Regions from separate parts of the Homo sapiens genome. Here all the other regions are linked to region 2. Evidence: promoter capture Hi-C in human tissues and cell types (Jung and others, 2019). All regions are on one chromosome and are shown on one strand. Each heading gives the region's core, a stretch centred on a gene start or on the middle of the fragment in contact. The rest is flanking DNA. Distances are from core to core; before and after follow the strand shown.

Region 1 (2,700 bases), core at 151-2,650, 1.3 Mb after region 2:
AATCAGATAAGGTTAACATAAAAATAAAATTATAAAACCATTTTTTACTTATGATCACTGATATAAAACAAAATATAGCTAACAGAATCAAATAGTATATATATAAATTTATCATATTGTATTTAAGATCTTTATTTTTCTAACATTCTTGGTCCTATGAAAACATTTCAGTATACAACATCAGAGAAAAACCATCATAATCTATATGCCAGTCATCACAATCGACATGGTATAATTTTTAAAAATAAACTATCTTGCCCTGTAGATGTATATATACAGCAGTCCCTCTGTATCCACAGGGGATTCGTTCCAGGACCCTCCCCCCAAAATCCACAATGCTCAAGTCCCTTATATAAAGTAGCATTGTACTGTCAGTCCCCAATTTATGATGGCTTCAATTGGGATTTGACTTGCCAATGGTGCAAAAGCAATGGGCATTCAGAACGCTTCTCATCTTACAATAGGGTTACATCTGGATAAACCCATTGTAAATTCAACTCGCCATATGGTCAATCTATACGATGGATGTATTTGGTTGTAACCCCATCATAAGTCAAGGAGCATCTGTATTTGCGTATAACCTATAACCTATGCACATCCTCTGTCCCAGGTTAATTATTTAGAGGTATAATTTAAATCACCTCTAAATTTTATTTTATTTTATTTTATTTTTGAGATGGAGTCTTGCTCTGTCGCCCAGGCTGGAGTGCAGTGGTGTGATCTCGGCTCACTGCAAGCTCTGCCTCCCGGCTTCACGCCATTCTCCTGCCTCAGCCTCCCGAGTAGCTGGGACTACAGGCGCCTGTAACCACACCCAGCTAATTTTTTGTATTTTTAGTGGAGACGGGGTTTCACTGTGTTAGCCAGGATGGTCTCGATCTCCTGACCTCGTGATCTGCCCGTCTCGGCCTCCCGAAGTGCTGGGGTTACAGGCGTGAACCACCATGCCCGGCCCAATCACCTCTAAATTATTTACACTACTAGTTAATACAATGTAAATGCTATGTAAATAGCTGTTGGGGCCAAGCATGGTGGCTCACTCCTGTAATCCCAACACTTTGGGAGGCTGAGGCAGGAGGATTACTTGAGCCCAGGAGTTCGAGACCAGCCTGTGGTCCCAGCTACTCAGGAGGCTGAAGTGGGAGGCTCACTTGAGCTCAGGAAGTTGTGGCTGCAGTGAGCTGTGATGGTACCACTGCACTCAAGCCTAGGCAACAAAGCAAGACTGTCTCAAAAAAAAAGTTGTTGTATTGATTTTTTTATTTATATTATTTTTTCTTGTTTTTTTTTTATTGCTTTTGTTTTTCAAATACTTTTGATCCACGGTTGATTGAAACCACAGATGTAAAACCCCAGGATACGAGGGGCCAACTGCATATAAAATCAAGTAAAACTTAGCTTAGGAATATAAGAATTTTTCTTTTTTATAGTATGTGTGTATATATATGTATATATGTGTGTCTATATAGGTATACATGTGTGTGTATATGTATATATACACACATATATATATATATATATTTTTTTTTTTTTTTAAATAGGGATGAGGTCTCACTATGTTGCCCAGGCTGGTCTCAAACTCCTGAGCTCAAGCGATCCTCCTGCTTCAGACTCCCGGAGTCCTGGGAAGAATTTTTCAACATCAAAAAATCTATTAACATGAGCTACCACAGTAAAAAGAAAAAAAACATATAATTATCTCAGTCTATTCAGAAAGAAATTTGATAAGATTTAAAGCCTACTTATGATTTTTTCCCTCTTAACTAATTAAGACTGGAAGAAACTTTCTCAACTAGTAAATTTCATATACCAAAAGCTTACATCAAAATTTTACTTGAGGAAGAAAATTGCAAAGATCCTTAATTAATTAATCCTTTAAGTCAGGATTAATTAACACAAAAATACTCAGTAATCCCCTGTGGTTTAACACAGAACTGCATTCTCCTGGTCAATGCCCTAAGGAAAGAAAAAGAAAGAAAAGATGTAAGGATTGGAAGATGAGAGAAAATTGTCATAATTCGAAGATGATATCACCGTCTACCTAGAAAGAAACCGCCGGCTGGGCGCGGTGGCTCAGGCCTCTAATCCCAGCACTTTGGGAGGAAGAGGCAGGTGGATCACTCAAGGTCAGAAGTTTGACATCAGCCTGGCCAACATAGTGAAACCCACTCTCTCGCTACGAAAAATACAAAAATTAGCTGGGCGTGGTGGTGCATGCCTGTAATCTCAGCTATTCAGGAGGCAAGGCAGGAGAATCACTTGAACCTGGGAGGCGGAGGTTGCAGTGAGCTGAGATCATTCCACTACACTCCAACCTGGGGGACAGAGTGAGACTCCCTCTCAAAAAAGAAAAAGAAAAAAGAAAAAAAGGAAACCAGCTGGGTGTGGTGGCTCATGCCTGTAATCCCATCACTTTGGGAGGCCGAGGTGGGCAGATTACTTGATGTCAGAAGTTCGAAACCAGCCTGGCCACATGGTGAAACCCCGTCTCTACTAAAAATATTGTAAAAATTAGCTGGGCATGGCGGCAGGCACCTGTAATCCCAGCTACTCAGGAGGCTGAGGCAGGAGAATCACTTAAACCTGGGAGGTGGAGGTTGCAGTGAGCCGAGATCATGTCCAGCCTGGGTGACGAAACGAGACTCTGTCTAAAAAAATTAATGAATTAATTAAAATAAAATAGTCAAACTCACAGAAGCA
Region 2 (2,700 bases), core at 91-2,590:
ACTGCCCTTGGGCCCGGACAATCTTAACAGGATCCTCGGGAAAAAAGAGTCTGCAGGAAGAGCTGTGGGGACAGGCAAGGAGTGGACAGCCATGTCTGAAGACCGAAAGGGTGAAGTCTACTCATCGCAGACCCCCGCCCACCCCTTCCCAGTTTCTGGTGGCGGGGGGGAAATGAGAGCTGGAAGGGCAAGGTGCTGCTTCCCTGCCTTGTCTCTCCACTCCACAGGTGGTTGCAAAGCAGGAAGCAGATGGGGTAACAAGTCGCTGAAACTTCGGATTGTTTCTGAAAGCATTTTCAGCCTCTGTGGCCTCCTTGCTCATTTCTGCATGTGTCCGCGTCAGTCTCCCGGATCCTGAGAAAAGGTGGCTGCCCCGTCCCATGGGGACTCCATAAGGCCGCGTGTCTTCGATGGGATGGGCCAGGGCACCAACATTAGGTGCCTGGCTCTCAGCCCTAAACAGCTCCTTGCCAGCCACGTGGCCCTGCTGCCCCTCGCTGGGTGCCAGCCCTAAGCTCCAGTGGGAGGCGACCTCACCCACCGTCCCACCGAGGGCCCCCTCACAGGTCAAGTGTGCTGCCTGTGAACCGACTCCCCCGACTCTCCCTTGTCTGCCCTTTCAGCCCCCTCCCAGGTCACTCTCGAGCCAGGCCCAGGTGCTGCTGACGGGCCACCCTGGGTGAGGTCCTCTCAGGCGCCAGGGTGAAGGTCTTCTCCGGAGTAAAGGCTGCCAAGCGAGGCTGACACAGCCGAACAGCGGTGAGGGCGGGGCCGTCTCCTGAACTGGGCGGCCTGGAGACGGCGCTGTCGGGGAGGCGGCCCCGGAGACCACCCGCCGGGACTGCCCAACGGCGCCGCCCGCCTCGGGCCCTAGAAGCTCCAGCGGGGCCGGGGCAGCGGCCGGACGGGATGGGTAGCAGCGGCTTCCTAGCCGGAGGCGCGTGCGTAGTGCGTGCGTGCGTGCGTCGTGCGTGCGCGTGCCTCTCCGCGCAGCCCCGCGCCCCCCGCCGCCCGCCCCCCGCCCGGGTACCTGATGAGCCGTTGCCTCAGGGCCAGCGTGTCGGCCTTCGGGCGCTGGTCTGCGGCCATGGTGGGTGGCCGTCAGTCGGTGCCGTGACGCCACGCGGAGACGTCGCCGCGCGGGCTGGGCCTCCAAGGCCCCGCTCCGGGCCCCGCCCCTGCCTGGGTCGGGATTTGGGGCTCAGGTTCGCACTCGGCCCCGCCCCGAAGCGCCCGCGTTGCGGTGGTTCATTTCTTCGCTTGCCCACTGGGCCTGGCAGCCTTCCGGCCCGTGGTCGTGCCTTGGCAGTCCCGCGCAGGAACTCGAGCGCTGCCCCGTCTCTGGTTCCGGGACGCGCCCCGGGCCTCGCCCCGCAGGCCCCGCCCCGCAGGCCCCTGCGGCCTCCCTTCCGGGAAAGGGTCCCGGACGACCCCGCCCCTGCTCCCGGCGCCCAGGCGGGGCTCGGAGCTCCTGCAGGCCTTCTCTGGGCCAGACTCAGTCTTTGAGTCGCCTTGTGCATAAAATGGGATGAACTGTGAGGCCTAAGTGCGAGTATGTGACTGGTACCTTACCCGGGCCTGGTACACAGTAGGGGCCTCAGGGTGGGAGAAGCAGGTCCTAGGTTTTCCCAGCCCCATGAAGGGGCAGCAGGAAGAGCAGAAGGAGAGCCCAGGGTCCCTTCTGGGGCTGACCAAGGAGATCACCATGGGCTTGACCTTCAGGGCACCATAGTTCCTGCTAGAATCTAGGCAGGGTGAACCGGACGAGCTGTATCGTCGCTGAGAGAATCATGCAGCGTTTGGGCAAGAAGAGAGGTTGGGAATCCTCCTTGTGGTACATGTCGGTGACCCTGAAGCCCAGAAAGGGAAAGGGTTTTGTTGTCAGACACGCAGCAAGGCTGCAGAGGCTGGACTCCTACTGAGGTCTTCTTGACTCCCAGCCCAGGGAGTGAGAAGAAAAAGCCTCCCAAGGGGCTGGGATATGAGAGAAAAGCCCCCTCCTGGGGTGAGGCACTGGGGCTTTCTGCCTTGAAGAACCCTGGAACACGGGCCTGGGACTGCAGCAGGTGCAGGGGAGGCTCCTGATTGTCCCTTCTTTCTGTCCACATCATGATTCCCAGGCCTCTGCTTCACTCCCTCATTGCTGATTTCTTCTTCTCTTCCCAATACAGTTGTAAGATGCATAAGGCATTTATTGAACTCTTGACCTCAGATGATCTGCCTGCCTCGGCCTCCCAGAGTGCTGGGATTACAGGCCGGGTGAGCCACCGCACCCGGCCGCTTAAGGCATTTATTAAAGAACATTTGGAGTTTCTTTTTTCTTTATTGTGTAAAATATACATAACAAAATTTTACCATTTTAACCATTTTTAAGGATACAATTCAGTGGCAAAAGTACATTCACATCGTCGTGCAGCCATCACCACCATCCATGCAACAGGACTTTTTCATCTTCCCTAAAAGAATGGAATTTCTTATTTTTAACTGTAAAGCTGAATTGAATATTTTACATGATTTTTGGAAAAAATTCTTCCCAAATTAACTGCGAGGTTAACTGCTTGTGGCCTGTATTTTTTTTTTTTTTTAAAGAAAGGGTCTTATTCTGTTGTTCAGGCTGGAGTGCAGCATTGCAGTCTCTACCTCCCTGGGATCATGTGATCCTCCCATCTCAGCCTCTCAAGTACCTGCTACTACAGGTGC
Region 3 (2,726 bases), core at 77-2,576, 1.9 Mb after region 2:
TGCTGGAACAGCCAAGCCTGCACCATGAAAGGCCTTCGTCACAACTTTCTTATCGGTTTCATCTTCGTGGTTGTCTGTTCCAGTGAGGACCCCATTTCTCTGGCTGCTTCTGCGAGTTTTTCATCTATGTTTTTCAAGAGATTAGTTTTTTTTTTTTTTTTTTTGAGGCAGAGTTTTGCTGTTGTTGCCCAGGCTGGAGTGCAATGGCACGATCTTGGCTCACTGCAACTTCCACCTCCCGGGTTCAAGCGATTCTCCTGCCTCAGCCTCCCGAGTAGCTGGGATTACAGGCATGCGCCACCACGCCCGGCTAATTTTGTATTTTTAGTAGAGATGGGGTTTCTCCATGTTGGTCAGGCTGGTCTCAAACTCCCTACCTCAGGTGATCCACCCGCCTCGGCCTCCCAAAGTGCTGGGATTACAGGCGTGAGCCACTGCACCCGGCCTAGTTTTCTTTTTATGCGTTACTTCTTTAAGTTTTTTCATCAAAAATAATTTGACTGCCACAAATACATTATCTCCATTTGGAACAATTGTACACTTTTTCTTTGCTTCATTTATACCAACATATGCAGGAAGTTCATCAGAAGAATCCCTGAAATACCCCATGTGGTACTGAGTTTTATTATCTCCAATAATGACGGTCTGGAACTCAGGAGGATCATGGTAAAACCTCCAATGAAGGCTAACATTCAGGCCTGTTGAATTTTTCTTAATTTTATGTTTTCCAGCAAGGATATCATAAGGACCACCTAACTGAAGTCCGAGGCTTGCAGAAAGTGATCAGCTGGCTTTTCAGGATCAAGTTCTTCAAAGAACTTCCAGAAACGATCGGAATCTTCAGGTGAAGAGAGCTTATAATGATTTTCTACTTCTTGTCGAAGACCACATCAGCTTCATAGAATTTACTTTTCTTCACATTAACCATTTTTTCACAGGCCCCTCCCCGCTGGGCTTGCACTTCCTCCCACCGCCGACCATTCTGCAGCCGCAGTGCCTTTTTTTTTTTTTTTTTACACAGGATCTGGCTCTGCTGCCCAGGCTGGAGGGCAGTGGCACAATCATAGCTCACTGCAGCCTCAAACTCCCAGGCTCAAGCCATGCTCCTGACCCAGCCTTCTGAGTAGATAAGGCTACAGCCACGCCCCACCATGCCTGGATGCTTTTTCGTTGTTGTTGAGACACGGTCTTGCTATGCTGCCCAGGCTGGCCTGGAACTCCTGGCCTCAAGTGATCCTCCCACCTCAGCCTCCCAAAGCATTCAGGTTACAAGTGTGAGCCACTGTGCCTGGCCTTCTCTTCCTTTTCTCTCCCATTTCACCCTCTTCCTCCCCTACCACTCTGTTCTTCCATCACCTGTTTTCTTTTACCCTCTCCTGCTTTCTGACTCCACCCCACACAGGTTTCATCAGTTAATTTTAAATAAACCTTAGCATTGGCTATACAGGTTGGGCAGATGACTATACCTCTTTAAACCTCAACTTTTTAATCCTTAAAATGGGAGAATCGGCCAGGCGCAGTGGCTCACGCCTGTAATCCCAGCACTTTGGGAGGCTGAGGTGGGCGGATCACCCAAGGTCAGGAGTTTGAGACCGGCCTGACCAGCATAGTGAAACCCTGTCTCCACTAAAAAATACAAAAAAATAATTACCCGGGCATGGTGGTGGGCACCTGTAATCCCAGCTACTCGGGAGGCTGAGGCAGGAGAATCCTTTGAATCCAGGAGGCAGAGGTTGCAGTGAGCCGAAATTGCACCACTGCACTCCAGCCTGAGCAACAGAGCAAGACTCCATCTCAAAAAAATAAAAAATAAAATAAAATAAATGGGAGAATTAACATTCGTCGTAATTAGGGAGGTTAAATATTACATTTTGGATTCTGAAGCTGGCCAAGATGAAGTAAGAGACCACTACAATCCATCCATGCCGCTGTCTAGGGACAAAATCAACAAGTCACTAGCTAAGGACTCTGCAGTGTTAACAATAGCAGGTGGATAGGAGAGAAGAGCTGAAACTTGAAGAATGACCTATTCAAGGGCAAGTTTCCCAGTTGCTTTTTCTTTCTTGTCTCCCAGTTTTGAACTGAGGTCAGCCCCAGTATAGAACAGTGCAGCATGTATGGGCAGAAAAAACTTCAAGAGAACCATCTGTGAGTGGAAAAAACACAAACCGTTTTTCCTCTGCTCCCACGCCACAGTAAGCAACACAGAAGGCTTCGGTGACCAAATGTTGGGGGTTTCTCCCCACACATCAGCAAGCAAGCAACCAATTCTGCATTAGGCACCAGCTGGGTGTCCTCTATATTCTAATGCTATCTACCTGGAGAGAGCGTCAGAGCCCACAGGGTGGGGCTCAGTCCCCAAGACTGCCTCCACTTCTGATGCCACTCCCAAGTCAGGGCCTCAGGAACTTCTGAGGGACCGGCTTCAAGTTGGGGTTCCCATGACGCCCTCCTTGCGTTCAATTAATTTGCGAGAGTGGCTCACAGAACTCGGGGACACACTTACATTTGCTGGTTTATTATAAAGGGTATTGGGAAGAATACAGATGAAGAGATGCCTGGGCAAGGCATGGGGAAAGGGGCACGAAGGTTCTACCCCTCCCTGGGCACGCGGCCCTCCAGGAACCTCCATGTGTTCAGCTATCCTGGAGGTTATACGGAGGCTTCATTTCTTGGGCGTGGCTGGTGAAATCACTGGCCATGGGTGACCAACTTAACCTTCAGCC
Region 4 (2,706 bases), core at 179-2,678, 1.2 Mb after region 2:
CCTAAGCATTAGTTGCTGGGGCCAGACTAGGGTGAGACAAGTGAGGCCTAGGGTGCAAACTCAGGGAGGCGCTGGTTCTCAGGGGTGTGCAGCTGCTGACCCGGCACCTCGTTCCCTTCAACCTAATATCCACCCTGCTATATGCAATGTGAAATTGAATCCAGAGTGATAAACTTTTGTTCTCTGCTCCATCAAAACTCATTCATTTTTCTTGGACTTTGAATGGATCTTTTGCCCATGCATGTTTGCATGGGCATGGAACCATCAGGACTGGGATTTCATCTTACTCTACTACAAACTAATCCATTAACTTGTTACTGTTGCGTGGATGCTGGCAAAAGAGATGAGATTCCTGTGTCAGAGACAAAGGACTTTATTATTGCTGCTCACACAGCAAGCAGAGCGGGCACCAGCCTGTTTTGCACTTGTTCCCTCTGTCCCCCAAGTCCTGCAGAGGTGATGCAGAGGAGCTGAGATAGATGCTACACACACAGTTGGTTTGTGCTGTAGCTGAGGAACCCTGAGCTTGGGGACTCGTCTGTTTTGTAGCATGCAGTAAGTAAGCCTGCTGTTTGTCCCAGAGGGAGACAGTATCTCATTCCTCAAGGCTGCTCACTATAAGCATAAATCTTAGAAATACTTTGGATGGACCAGGCACAGTGGCTCATGCCTTTAATCCCAGCACTTTGGGAGGTGGGCGGATCACTTGAGGTCAGGAGTTCAAGACCAGCCTGGCCAACATGGTGAAACCCCATATCTAGTAAAAATACAAAAATTAGCCGGGCTTGCTGGTGTGCGCCTGTAATCCCAGCTACTTGAGAGGCTGAGACAGAAGAATCACTTGAACCAGGGAGGCAGAGGTGGCAGTGAGCTGAGATCATGCCACTGCACTCCAGCCTCAGAGACAAAGTGAGACTGTCTCAAATAAATAAACAAATAAATAAATTAGCTGAGCGTGGTGGCAGGTGCCCGAAGTCCCAGCTACTCTGGAGATTGAAGCAGGAGAACTGCATGAACCCAGGAGGCGGAAGTTGCAGTGAGCCGAGATCATGCCATTGCATTCCAGCATGGGGGACAGAGTGAGACTCTGTCTCAAAAAAAAAAAAGAAAGAAATAGTTTGGATAAAAAGAGTGCTCAAGCTTTGCATTCTTGGCACACCCAGCAAGACCTGTAGGAGTGTGAGAGATCCACAGAGGATGATTGTTTTTTCCTGGCGGAAATATCATGCATTGGTCATTTGGAAAATTTTGGTTCACTGAGTTATGTAGATCCTCCAAATGTTGACACATGTCTTTGCACAATATCAAAAACCACATTTATTAACATCATCATTAATCTCATCAGAAAAGTCTTTAGGTACCGACAAACCAGCAAGCTTACAGTGGCAGACACAGGTTTGCCAAAATTCTAATTTTTGCTTGAAAGCCCAAATTTCATCTTGAGGAATGAGCTCAAATTTTATCTTTAGGAGTTGTTTAAAAATAACTGTTCCGTGCTGTCAGTTATTTTCCTTGAAGAGATATGCTTACTTTGCTGGTTTTCAATAGAATGTCCTCCAAATATCCAAGTCTGAATAACCATCGTATGACCGTTGACCAACCCTCCAGGTAGAAATTGTATTCCCTGAGAAAAGGGGCTAGTTCAGCTTGCAACTCAAACAATCGCACACGTGCTTTTCTTTGAGACAAACGTAGTTGAGAACGTAGCAGAAATGTTTCCTACTTCCCACTTCATGACACAAAACACTAAAAAGACACGTGCCCAGAGGTCAAGATTTTTAAAAACTAATAAATTTTACTTTGCTATCAGGGACATTCTTGCTGGACACAGTGGCTCACACCTCTAATGGCAGAACTTTGAGATGTTCAAGTAAGAGGATCACTTGAGCCCAGGAGTTCCAGGCCAGCCTGGGCAGCAAAGGGAGACCCTGTCTCTCCAAAAAAAGTAATAAACAGGCATAGTGGCACATGCCTGTGGTCTCAGCTACTTGGGAGGCTCTGGCAGGAAGATCGCTGGGGCACAGGACGTGGAGGCTGCAACGAGCCAGGATCCCATCACTACACTCCAGCATGGAAAACATAGTGAGATCCCGTCTTAACAACACAAGAAAACAAAAAAACCCAGCACGTTCTTAAGTAAAGTCATTTTTTTTGTGGCTCTGGGAGTGTAGAGCAGTAAGGAACACAGAGCTGGCACATCGGGGATCCACTGCCTTGATCTGAATTAGTTTTACCCACGGTCATTTTGTACCTTTTACACTAAATGTCAACATGATGAAAAGGGCAAATAATGTCTTAACAGTCACATGAAAATACTTTTACTTCACAGACCTCTGAATAAGTCGTGGGAGCCCTCGGGTCCTGCAGACCACAAGGGAGGAGCGACTGATGTTCACTTTGGAGACCCGGGCTTCTGATTGCACCCTTGCCCCAGGCCCTGTGAACTCCAGGAAAGGATCTTCCAGGGACACAGACAACAGAACAAAATACTTGTTTGTCTTCAAGGACTTCAGGGTCTTCAGCATGTTCAAACCCACAGGTGCCTTCGGGGACCAAGAGGCAGAGAGATGGGAGGAGCGGCTGGGTGGGGCCCGGGCAGAGCGGAGGACACAGGTGTGAATTTGTGCGCAGCCGCTGCTCCCTCCGGCCAGCCGTGGCCAAGTGGACATTCGGACCCAGAGCGGCCAGATCTTGTAATTTCCAAGA
Region 5 (2,700 bases), core at 154-2,653, 1.4 Mb after region 2:
TCAACTGAGGTAGGGGTGAGTGGTCAGGATTTTGTTTAAAATGCAGATTCCAACTGACAAGGTCAGGAGGTTAAGTTACTGCAAACAAGCTATGGAGCATAAGATTCCAAAGAACCATAATGCTTCTAGACTTTTTTTTGAGACAGGAATTTCGCTCGTTACCCAGACTAGAGTGCAATGGCACGATCTTGGCTCACTGCAACCTCTGCCTCAGTAACTGGTATTATAAGCGTGCACCACCATGCCCAGCTAATTTTTGTATTTTTTAGCAGAGACAGGGTTTCACCATGTTGGCCAGGCTGGTCTCGAACTCCTGACCTCAGGTGATCCACCCACCTCAGCCTCCCAAAGTGTTGAAATCACAGGCGTTAGCCACCGCCCCTGCCCTAGACTAGCCGTATGGCTCTGGATTTAGTTTAACCTTACTCCAAGTTTCTAGTTCTACTCCCTTCTCTAACAGGGCAAGCTTTATCCTTAAATGTACCACAGTTAACTAAAGAACCCAGAGAAGGGACCTTCAATCTTTCTCAATACTGGGCCTCAGTACCAAACTATTAACGCAAGATCTCAAGGGCAGTAACCAAGCTTAGAACACAGCTCAACAACTCTCAACACTGCCTCCCCCGACAACTGCTGTTCTCTAGACCTGCCAAAGACAAAACCAACAATACACATTCCAGACCCTTCCCTCTGCTAGTGTCCAGTCCTGGTAGGGGCAAGCAAGGTAGATCTGCAAAGCCCTCCCCTCCATGTCTCCTGCATGCACTGCTCCTGTGGGCAGATGGTTAGAAATGACCGATACTAAGCCACTCTGTCCACCCTACCTAGCTCTACCCCAACAACAAACTCAAGAAAAGCTCGTGTAATCGCAGAAAAGAGAAAGCTTATCCACACTTCGCTTTAAAGGGCGGCCGGGCGCGGTGGCTCACGCCTGTAATCCCAGCACTTTGGGAGGCCGAGGCGGGCGGATCACGAGGTCAGGAGATCGAGACCATCCCGGCTAAAACGGTGAAACCCCGTCTCTACTAAAAATACAAAAAAAAATTAGCCGGGCGTAGTGGCGGGCGCCTGTAGTCCCAGCTACTTGGGAGGCTGAGGAAGGAGAATGGCGTGAACCCGGTAGGCGGAGCTTGCAGTGAGCCGAGATCCCGCCACTGCACTCCAGCCTGGGCGATAGAGCGAGACTCCGTCTCAAAAAAAAAAAAAAAAAAAAGGCACAAGCCTATGTGACAGCCTAGTTCAGACACTACATTCTAATTTCATTATCAGGGACTTGAATCTAATGGGATGAAAGTAGTAGCGGCAGTTCCCACACTGCAGCACCCCTGAGCATCTGCTGAAGGAACCCCGGGAGCGTGCTTTTCAGGACTGCTTTTGTGATACCCAACCTTGTATTAACACGAATAGACTCTCCCTTACATGCCTAACCTTGTTTTTAATATGAAGACTCCCTTCGCTGAGAAAACCAGGCCAACTCCATTTGGCTCCTTCATTTACAAGACATCAAGGGCTCCTTACCCACCCCCCTTTCCTCAAGGACTTTAACTTGTGCAAGCTCTCAACGTATCAAAGAGTGCAGTTAACTGATAAGGTGCTGAGGCAAGCGATGTCCAGTTCCCAGCAATTTACTCAGAGATGGTACCATCAAGCCCCCATGTTTGTCCGGTAGATAACACCCAGAGCCCCCTCACCTGTCACTTTGTGATGAATTTGAAGCTCCTGCACCTGGAACTGTTTTCCTGTAACCATTTGTCTTTAACTTTTTTGTCTGTTTTTCTTCCCTAAGATGGCTGCAGCTAGAATCCCCCTCCCCTCTCCAAACCAAAGTATAAAAGAAAATCTAGCTCCTTCTTCGAGGCCGAGATACTTTCATGCGGTAGCCGTCTCTCGGTCGCCGGCTAATAAAGGACTCCTGAACTCGTCTCCAAGTGTGGCGTTTCTAACTCGCTCAGGTACACCACTTGGAAGCAGCTTGAATACTTGCTATCATCATGTTGGAGCTTCGAACTACCAAAACGTGATATATTTAAGAGTTCATTTAAACTTCTCATGTTAGCTCTCAATCTCTACCTATCGTTCTACCTTAGGAGACTTACATGGAATTTTGCTTCCAAGTGGAATTGATTTTTAGGAATGACCCAAAAATACAGAAGTTCAAAACTTCCATTTGAAAACCATCTGTGAAGGCTGGGCAATGGCTCCAGCCTATAATCCCAGCACTTTCAGAGGCCGAGGTGGGCAGATCTCATGAGGTCAGGAGTTGGAGACCAGCCTGGCCAACATCGTGAAACCCCGTGTCTACTAAACATACAAAAAAAATTAGCCTGGAGTGGTGGTGGGCGCCTGTAACCCCAACTACTTGGGAGGCTGAGGCAGAAGCCCACAAGGTGGAGGTTGCAGGTGAGCTGAGATCACGCCACTGCAATCCAGCCTGAGACAACAGAATATAACTCTGCCTCAAAAAAAAAAACAAACCTATGAGCTTATGAGCTAGAAGAAACCCACATATTCATCACACCTCCCTTGCCTCCGGCACCTTCCCAGCCAAGCATGAAGGCCTCAAAGACATGCAGGCATGCAGTGAGGGCACTGGCGCCTCCCCCTTTGTTTTGTGCAAGTGCTTAATGAGTTACAGGCAGTTCAGATCAGGTCCTGTGCAGCCAAATGACATACAGCCCTTCCACCAGGGCCCCAAAGACG

What was found. The method cuts DNA at HindIII sites, captures the fragments that hold promoters and counts their contacts. A contact is called where the count stands out against the background at its distance.
Region 1: a contact is called between a fragment that was not itself captured here and the fragment with the promoter of PHYKPL in region 2, in 2 of the 25 tissues and cell types used here (mesendoderm cells and pancreas).
Region 3: a fragment that was not itself captured here is called in contact with the fragment with the promoter of PHYKPL in region 2 in 1 of the 25 tissues and cell types used here (lymphoblastoid cells).
Region 4: a fragment that was not itself captured here is called in contact with the fragment with the promoter of PHYKPL in region 2 in 2 of the 25 tissues and cell types used here (IMR-90 fibroblasts and lymphoblastoid cells).
Region 5: a contact is called between a fragment that was not itself captured here and the fragment with the promoter of PHYKPL in region 2, in 1 of the 25 tissues and cell types used here (lymphoblastoid cells).

What each region holds. Positions count from the first base shown.
Region 1 is chr5:179,531,323-179,534,022 of GRCh38, forward strand. All of the region lies in intron 4 of LOC128966623 (a long non-coding RNA gene), which reads left to right. Among named protein-coding and RNA genes, the nearest start is that of RUFY1, 18 kb to the right of the region's middle. The HindIII fragment of the contact is 7,886 bases long and covers 1-2,700 here.
Region 2 is chr5:178,231,462-178,234,161 of GRCh38, forward strand. PHYKPL (5-phosphohydroxy-L-lysine phospho-lyase) reads right to left here and starts at 1,341. Exons shown (of 13, transcript NM_153373.4): 1 at 1,031-1,341; 2 at 1-62. The coding sequence starts at 1,089. LOC112267937 (a long non-coding RNA gene) reads left to right here and starts at 2,577. Exons shown (of 3, transcript XR_002956238.2): 1 at 2,577-2,700. RefSeq lists silencers at 766-1,085, 1,166-1,575 and an enhancer at 965-1,503. The HindIII fragment of the contact is 15,074 bases long and covers 1-2,700 here.
Region 3 is chr5:180,086,058-180,088,783 of GRCh38, forward strand. It overlaps the pseudogene LOC646058. Among named protein-coding and RNA genes, the nearest start is that of RNF130, 16 kb to the left of the region's middle. The HindIII fragment of the contact is 7,253 bases long and covers 1-2,726 here.
Region 4 is chr5:179,444,615-179,447,320 of GRCh38, forward strand. No RefSeq gene overlaps it. Among named protein-coding and RNA genes, the nearest start is that of ADAMTS2, 100 kb to the left of the region's middle. The HindIII fragment of the contact is 3,174 bases long and covers 1-2,706 here.
Region 5 is chr5:179,611,330-179,614,029 of GRCh38, forward strand. The region is part of intron 4 of LOC128966623 (a long non-coding RNA gene); the gene reads left to right. Among named protein-coding and RNA genes, the nearest start is that of RUFY1-AS1, 8.9 kb to the left of the region's middle. RefSeq lists an enhancer at 2,499-2,558. The HindIII fragment of the contact is 3,640 bases long and covers 1-2,700 here.